Regions from separate parts of the Homo sapiens genome. Here region 2 is linked to region 1. Evidence: promoter capture Hi-C in 16 types of primary human blood cells and fetal thymus (Javierre and others, 2016). All regions are on one chromosome and are shown on one strand. The core of a region is centred on a gene start or on the middle of the fragment in contact, and the rest is flanking DNA. Distances in the headings are between cores, read along the strand shown.

Region 1 (3,596 bases), core at 789-3,288:
AAATACACATGGCGGCCTGGCGTGGTGGCTCACGCCTACAATCCCAGCACTTTGGGAGGCCGAGGCAGGCGGATCACTTGAGGCCGGGAGTTCGAGACCAGCCTGACCAATATGGTGAAACCCCGTCTCTACTAAAATACAAAAAATTAGCCAGGCGTGGTGGCGGGCGCCTGTAATCCCAGCTAATTGGGAGGCTGAGGTGGGAGAATCACTTGAACCTGGGAGGCGGAGGTTGCAATGAGCCAAAAATCACACCACTGCACTCCAGCCTGGGCGACAGATTGAGACTCCGTCTAAAATAAATCAATACGATACAGTACAGTACAATACAATACAATACACCACACCTGACCCCAAGGCTGTTGTTGGATGAGAGACTGTGGATTGTCACATGCACCTTTTACAGTTGAGGCAGAGGCTCAAGGTAGGTCACTGGAATGACGTGCCCCAGGCCACACATTAGCCTCTAACAGCTCTGGGTCCAGTTTTGTTTTTTCCACTCATGCCCCAGACAATCAATAGGCATTGTTTGTAACCATAGCCATGGGGACTGTAGGCTTGCTGTGCAGCAGCCACTGCACTGGACAAGCATTCCATGCACACTCCACCCTCTAGTCCCCACAACAGCCCAACCAGGTAGGGTGGGCACTCGCTCTGCCCTTCCTTCTGCTGAGAGGAAGCCCAGGCTCTGATGAGTAAGAAGGAGCCTTCCATAGCAAAGCCAGGCCTGTGTAGCCCAATGTCCGGGCCATAAGCACTTGGGTGGCTCTGGCTTTGCTTATAGGCTTGTCTGATTCTACAAGCTTGTGTTTTCCCAGGCTCAGCTCAGGCTTGGCTGTGGATCACATAAGGGAAGAAAGTCAAGAAGCTGCTCAGGGGCGGAGCCTGTGGGCAAGTGCACACACAGGGAAGACCCCTGCCCTATCCTGAGTAGGGAACCTTGGAAAGACCCCATGTGTGCTTGGGCATCATTGTGGGGAAGACTGGGCTGTGGAAAAACACTAGCGTTTGTCTGGGAATTTTGGGGAAGGAAAGGGATGGAAAAGCGAAAGGGTGGGAAGGGGCTGGTTTCCTGCTGCTTCTGCTATATAAGAACAGCATCTAGCAGGAAGGTTGTCCCGTGGGCCCATACTAGCCACCTTACAAAGCAGCGTCTGCAGTGGCTGACGCCTGTAATCCCAGCACTTTGGGAGGCTGAGGCCGGTGGATCTACCTGAGGTCAGGAGTTCAAGACCAGCCTGGCCAACATGGTGAAACACCATCTCTACTAATAATACCAAAAAATTAGCAGGGCATGGTGGCGGGCGCCTGTAATCCCAGCTACTCAGGAGGCTGAGGCAGGAGAATCGCTTGAAACTGGGAGGCGGAGGTTGTAGTGAGCCGAGATCGCGCCATTACACTCCAGCCTGGGCAACAGAGCGAAACTCCGTCTCAAAAAGAAGAAAAAAAAGGAAAGAAAAAAGAAAGCGGCGTGCGGGGCAGGGGGTTGGAGCTCTTTCTGGGCTCAGTGTCCCCAGGTGACGGAACACATGCCACGTGCTTGGTGCGCTGCGAGCTCAGCTCCTGGAGCTTCTGTTGCTGCTGTGGCCGCAAGGCCTGGACCCTCGCGGGGAGATTCAGACCCACACTTAGCTCCAGAGCTTGGGGGTTGTCGTTAAGCCCTTCCTTTCCATCAGAGGCTGATGAATCCCCAAACTCCTGGGCTGAGTTCGACTCTCCGACAACTCCTCAGAGGCGGATGTTTGGGGCCACTGGAATAAGCCCAGCACCAGCTGGGGTGTGGACAGCCTCGGGGGCCAGGCCAACTCTCCCGGACGGGTGCGGACGGCAGGGGCGGGGCCGGGCTGTAGGCGGTGGGAGGGGTGGGGCCGGGCGAGAAGGGGCTGGGCGGGCTGCCGTCGGGCGGGGCTGCGCGGGGAAGGGCGGGGCTGCGCGGGGGGCGGGGCTGCGTGGGGGAGGGCGGGGCCGGGCTGTTGTGGGTGGGCGGGGCGCACCGGGGAAAGTTCCGGGAAGGGCGGCAGCCGGCGGGGCCCGGGCGCGGAAGTTGCCGGCGGCCGCGCGGCCTCCCGGGCGGGCCTACAGCCATGTCCCGGGACCCGGGGTCGGGCGGCTGGGAGGAGGCCCCGCGCGCAGCTGCCGCGCTCTGCACCCTGTACCACGAGGCCGGACAGCGGCTGCGCCGCCTGCAGGACCAGCTCGCTGCCCGCGACGCCCTCATCGCTCGCCTCCGCGCCCGCCTGGCCGCGCTGGAGGGGGACGCCGCGCCGTCCCTAGTGGACGCGCTGCTGGAGCAGGTTGCGCGCTTCCGGGAGCAGCTGCGAAGGCAGGAGGGCGGCGCCGCCGAGGCCCAGATGCGCCAGGTACGAGGGCGGGTACCAGAGGAGCTGCGGGAGCGAGAGTGCGTGTGGCGGCCGCCGGGTCCTGGGTGGGTGAGCGAGCGGGCCCCGGGTCCTGAGGGGTTGAGGGGGTACTGGGTCCTGGGGTTGAGTTGGCCTCGGGTCCTGAGGGGTTGGGGGAGCACCAGGTCCTGGGAGTTGAGGGGGTGCCGGGTCCTGGGGGTGAGGGGGCCCCGGCTCCTGAGGGGTTGGGGGAGCATCAGGTCCTGGGGGTTGAGGGGGTGCCGGGTCCTGGGGTTGAGGGACACTAGGTCCTGGGGGTAAGGGGCCGTCGGGTCCTGGGGGTGATAGGGCAACAGCTTCTGGGGGGTGAGGGGACCCTGGGTCCTAGGGGAGAGAGGGGGACCAGGTCCTGAGTGGGATAAGGGGACACCACGGGCTGAGGTGTGCTGGGTCCTGGGGGGTTTGAGGCGTCACCAGGTGCTGGTGGAGGTGAGGGGGCTCTGGGTCCTGCGGGGTGAGGGTGCAAGGTTCTGAAGGGGATAAGCGAATGCTGGATCCTGGGGGGTTGGGAGGGCACTGGGTCCTGGGGGATGGTGAGGAGGCACTGGGTTCTGAGGAGGGGGGTTGGTGCAGTTCTTGGGTTCTGTGTGTGTGTGGTGTATGTTCAGGTGGGCTCTTAGGGGTATTTTGAGGTTCGTGTGTGGGAACACATTCCGAGGGGGGTGTGTGTATGCTGTGTGTATTCTGTGTGTATTGTGTAGTGTGTATGTTCCGGTTGGTTCTTAGGGGTGTTTTGAGGTGTGTGTGCGGGAGACACATTCTGAGGGGTGTGTATGGTGTGTGTGTGTACGCACACATGTGTGTCTTGGGTCCAAGGTCGTGTACTCATATTGTGTTCTAGAGTCCCTTCCAGCCCTCACCCATGCATGTGTCTTTCACTAGTGGCGCTTCAACTCTATGCTGGGAGCAATGGCAAATGCAGCCCGTGTCTGATAAAGGACACAAATCCTAGGCTGGGTGCAGTGGCTCACGCCTGTAATCCCAGTACTTTCGGAGGCAAGGCGGGCAGATTGCCTGAGCCCAGGAGTTCGAGACAAGGCTGAGCAACATGGTGAAACCCTGTCTACAAAAAGTGCAAAAAATTAGCCGGGCATGGTGGCACGTGCCCGTGCTCCCAGCCACTAGGGAGACTTAGGTGGGAGGATCACTTGAGCCTGGGAGGCAGAGGTTGCAGTGAGCCAAGATCGCACCACTGCA
Region 2 (3,596 bases), core at 343-2,842, 350 kb before region 1:
AAAGGATAAATGCTTGAGGGCATGGATATCCAACTTTCCATGGTGTGATTATTATGTATTGTATACCTGTATCAAAATATCTCATGTACCCCATAAATATATACATTTACATGTACCTACAAAATACGTGTACCTATAAAAATTTAAAATTTAAAACATTTTTAAAAAAGAAAAGCAAGGCCCACCTTTTTAATTTCCTTATAGAGCTCGAGCTGTAACCTTGGAAGATTAGAATCCATCAAAGCCTACAACAAATCACAAGAGATTTATGGAAGACACATCCCATCACTAGTTCTAAAACGAGCTAAAAGGAAACTAAGATTTCAATTTTGGGGCAAAGCAAAACATAATAGCAACTAAATTAAGAATATATTCATTAAGAATGAAAGAAACAAATATATGCAGGAAGTTACTGAATAAACTAGATACAGGTCATTCACTTAAACAGAAAAATGGAAAGAAAAACAATTTAACTTTCATTATCATCAAATACTACATAACATCAAAATTAAAATGGTAGATGGTTCAAATACAATAAATCCTGGCCAGGTGGGGTGGCTCATGCCTGTAATCCCAGCACTTTGGGAGGCCAAGGCGGGCAGATCACCTGAGGTCAGGAGTTCAAGACCAGCCTGACCAACATGGAGAAACTCCGTCTCTACTAAAAAATACAAAAATTAGCCGGGTGTGGTGGTGGGCGCCTGTAATCCCAGCTACTCGAGAGGCTGAGGCAGGAGAATAGTTTGAACCCGGGAGGCGGAGGTTGCAGTGAGCCAAGATCACGCCATTGCACTCCAGCCTGGGCAACAAGAGCGAAACTCCATCTCAAAAAAAAAAAAAAAAAAAATTATATATATAGGATTTATATATATATAATAAATCCTAAAGCCCCTGGAGTAAATCTTTAATCTTCACTAGCAGAACATTCTGTTGGATGATACGGGCTCAGACGGCACCCTGGACATCTGCAGGGTCCCGAGCACTGTGGGTGTACTTATAAACCACAGACCCTCGCTCTGGCCTAGAACACTTCCCAAGGCGGAGTCCTGCATCCTTTTCTGCAGGTGTGGCCCCTCCTCACTGTCAGGTATGCCCGTGGTCCCTGCCCCCCTGACCCAGAGCCTGCTGCCAGCTGGGGCCCCACATTCCTCACAGCACATCTCTCAACCCTCCTTGCTCACTTGTGAGGCTAAACCAGAAAGTACGTCCAGATGGTCAACTTCAAGCTAGTAACGATGCTAACGGCACAAAGTCCACATTAGAGAAGGGCTTCTCAAGCTAGGGGATGGGACAGGGAAGACTTTGGTGCCCCACTCTCACCCATAGGAGCCTTCTCTTCCAAATGCTTGCCCACCCAAGAGGGAGGAAGCTGTGCCAAACATCAGTCGATGATCTCTTTAACCGTGGCATGGGCAGTTGATGTAAGTGGACTGAGATGGTCTTCGTAAAACTTGTGGGTTAACCTATTGGGTCAGCAAGCTTGAAAATCAAAACCAGATCACATTCTGGGAAATTCTGAGGAGTAAAAACATCTCAGAAACGTTTAAATCCTAATCCTGTTGTTGCAGTTTGTACTGAAAGTCCTTAAATGAGCAAAGCGAATTGGACAAACATTTATTTCAACATTACTTCTTAAATAAAACTAGAAGCCTTATCAAACCTTGATTTAGCTTTACAAATGTTTTGTAAACAAATACCAAGCTTATTGTATAACAAGAGAAAACTAAAACTCAGCCCCTCCTAAGAGCAGGGAATGGTCTCTCACAATCTACGCCAGTCGCTGGGTGATGGCAGCACGCTGCTGGCCTCTTCCCTCTTGCCCCTGCTTCCGCAGACACACAGGTGGCTGCCTCTCCTCACAGCCCTGCCACCATCCTGGCTCGAGGCCCTGCACTCCTGCTGGGTCTACTCACTCCCACCTGGACTCCCTCCCACCTGTCCTCCTCTACCCCACGTCCTCACCGGGTCACTCTTCCTAAATGATACACTCCCCTGACCACATCCAAAGTCTTCAAGAGCCCCTAATTCTCTACCAAACAAGGTACAACCCCTTGACCTGACCCTCATGGTGTCCCACTCTCTGGCAGCATAAGATGGGTTCAGCCTCCACAGCTTCCTGGCACCCCTTGAGACAAGAGGCGGTGATGATTAAGAAGGTCTCCAATCTACTCTTTCACCTACTGGCTGCTGACTCCAGGAAGCCTTTCCTGCCTCCCTAGACAAAAATCACTTCAGCCTCTTGACGGTGGTGGTGATTTGCCAGCACCTCACAGAACGGAGACTTTATGCCACATATGAAGTTCTTGCTGGACACACGTGCTTCACCGCCTGAGACTAACCTACCTGAGGGAGGCATGCTGCCAGGCTATGTCAGATACCCAGTGCATTTCTCTACAGAAACCACATGCAAAATGTGCCCATTTTCTTGGGCTAAGTAGAACCTAGTTTTCACCATACACACACAGCCATACTCATGAGAAGACAAAGTCTAGGACCTGAAGGCTACGTGACCATGCCTATGCTCCCTACAGCTGGCCTGGGGTCACACGTGCTCTCCCACGCCTCCCCCTACTCTGCCACAGTGAGAGCAAACCTAGCCAGATCCTGATCCCGCTGCCAGCCCGCTGGGCCTGACAACTACAGCATCTGAGGAAGCAGGAATCTGAGAGCAGCCAAACCCTGCTGCACCAAACTTAAGCATAAGGGAGAAATGGCTGGAAACAAAGAAGAGGACATGGGAAAGAAGCAAGGAGACAGCCAGGAAGAGCACCTGAGACCTAAAACCACAACCTAGGGCCATGGCCTACAGTCCTCAGACACACACCAAGCCACTGTGTCCAGCAATTCCTGGAAAAAAAATGAAGGAGGTTTAAAAAAGAACAATACTTACACATTAAATGACCAATATTAGAACAGTTTCTGTTCATATTCTCTCTGCCCTCTTAACGTCCCATTTGCCATGAACCAAGGCAACCTGGGATAGCCCTCTTTTTAGATTTTCTGACTCTGAGGATCAAATATCAAGAACTGAAACATCAAGGGCCAGGCACAGTGGCTCACACCTGTGATCCCAGCACTTTGGGAAACCAAGGAGGGAGGATCACTTGAGCCCAGGCGTTCAAGACCAGCCTGGGCAACCTGGCGAGATCCCATCTCTACAAATAATTTTAAAAATTAGCTGGGCATGGTGGTGCACGCCTGTAGTCCCAGCTACTCAAGGGGCCAAGCCAGGAGGATAGCTTGAGCCCGGTAGCTCAAGGCTGCAATGAGCCGTGATCAGCCACTGCACTCCAGCCTGGGTGACTGAGCGAGACCCTGTCTCATGCAAAGACAGACCGCCCTGGTCCTGCCAGTGAGAATAAAAGAAGCAAGCAAGGATATTTAGGCCTGTGGAGAAGCAAGCTTAACTGGAAGCAGGCCCTAAATGGCACCATGCAAGTGGTGCCAATGATCAGCAGGCACGGAGAACAAGGTGAAACTGATATACGTCACTGCATAAGTGAGATGCGAGCAAAGCAGGAATTGCAAGCGGAGAGAGAAGACAGTGACCACTCTAGGGACAAGACAGGGAGCTAGAATCCCATGGCTCCAGAGAA

What was found. The method cuts DNA at HindIII sites, captures the fragments that hold promoters and counts their contacts. A CHiCAGO score of 5 or more calls a contact.
Region 2: a contact is called between a fragment that was not itself captured here and the fragment with the promoter of TNIP2 in region 1, in 1 of 17 cell types (naive B cells). The highest score is 5.0, in naive B cells.

What each region holds. Positions count from the first base shown.
Region 1 is chr4:2,754,778-2,758,373 of GRCh38, reverse strand. TNIP2 (TNFAIP3 interacting protein 2) reads left to right here and starts at 2,038. Exons shown (of 6, transcript NM_024309.4): 1 at 2,038-2,360. The coding sequence starts at 2,085. RefSeq lists silencers at 1,576-1,715, 1,896-2,415, 2,436-2,495. The HindIII fragment of the contact is 7,310 bases long and covers 806-3,596 here.
Region 2 is chr4:3,100,473-3,104,068 of GRCh38, reverse strand. HTT (huntingtin) reads right to left here. Exons shown (of 67, transcript NM_001388492.1): 4 at 186-245. Among named protein-coding and RNA genes, the nearest start is that of HTT, 28 kb to the right of the region's middle. The HindIII fragment of the contact is 222 bases long and covers 1,482-1,703 here.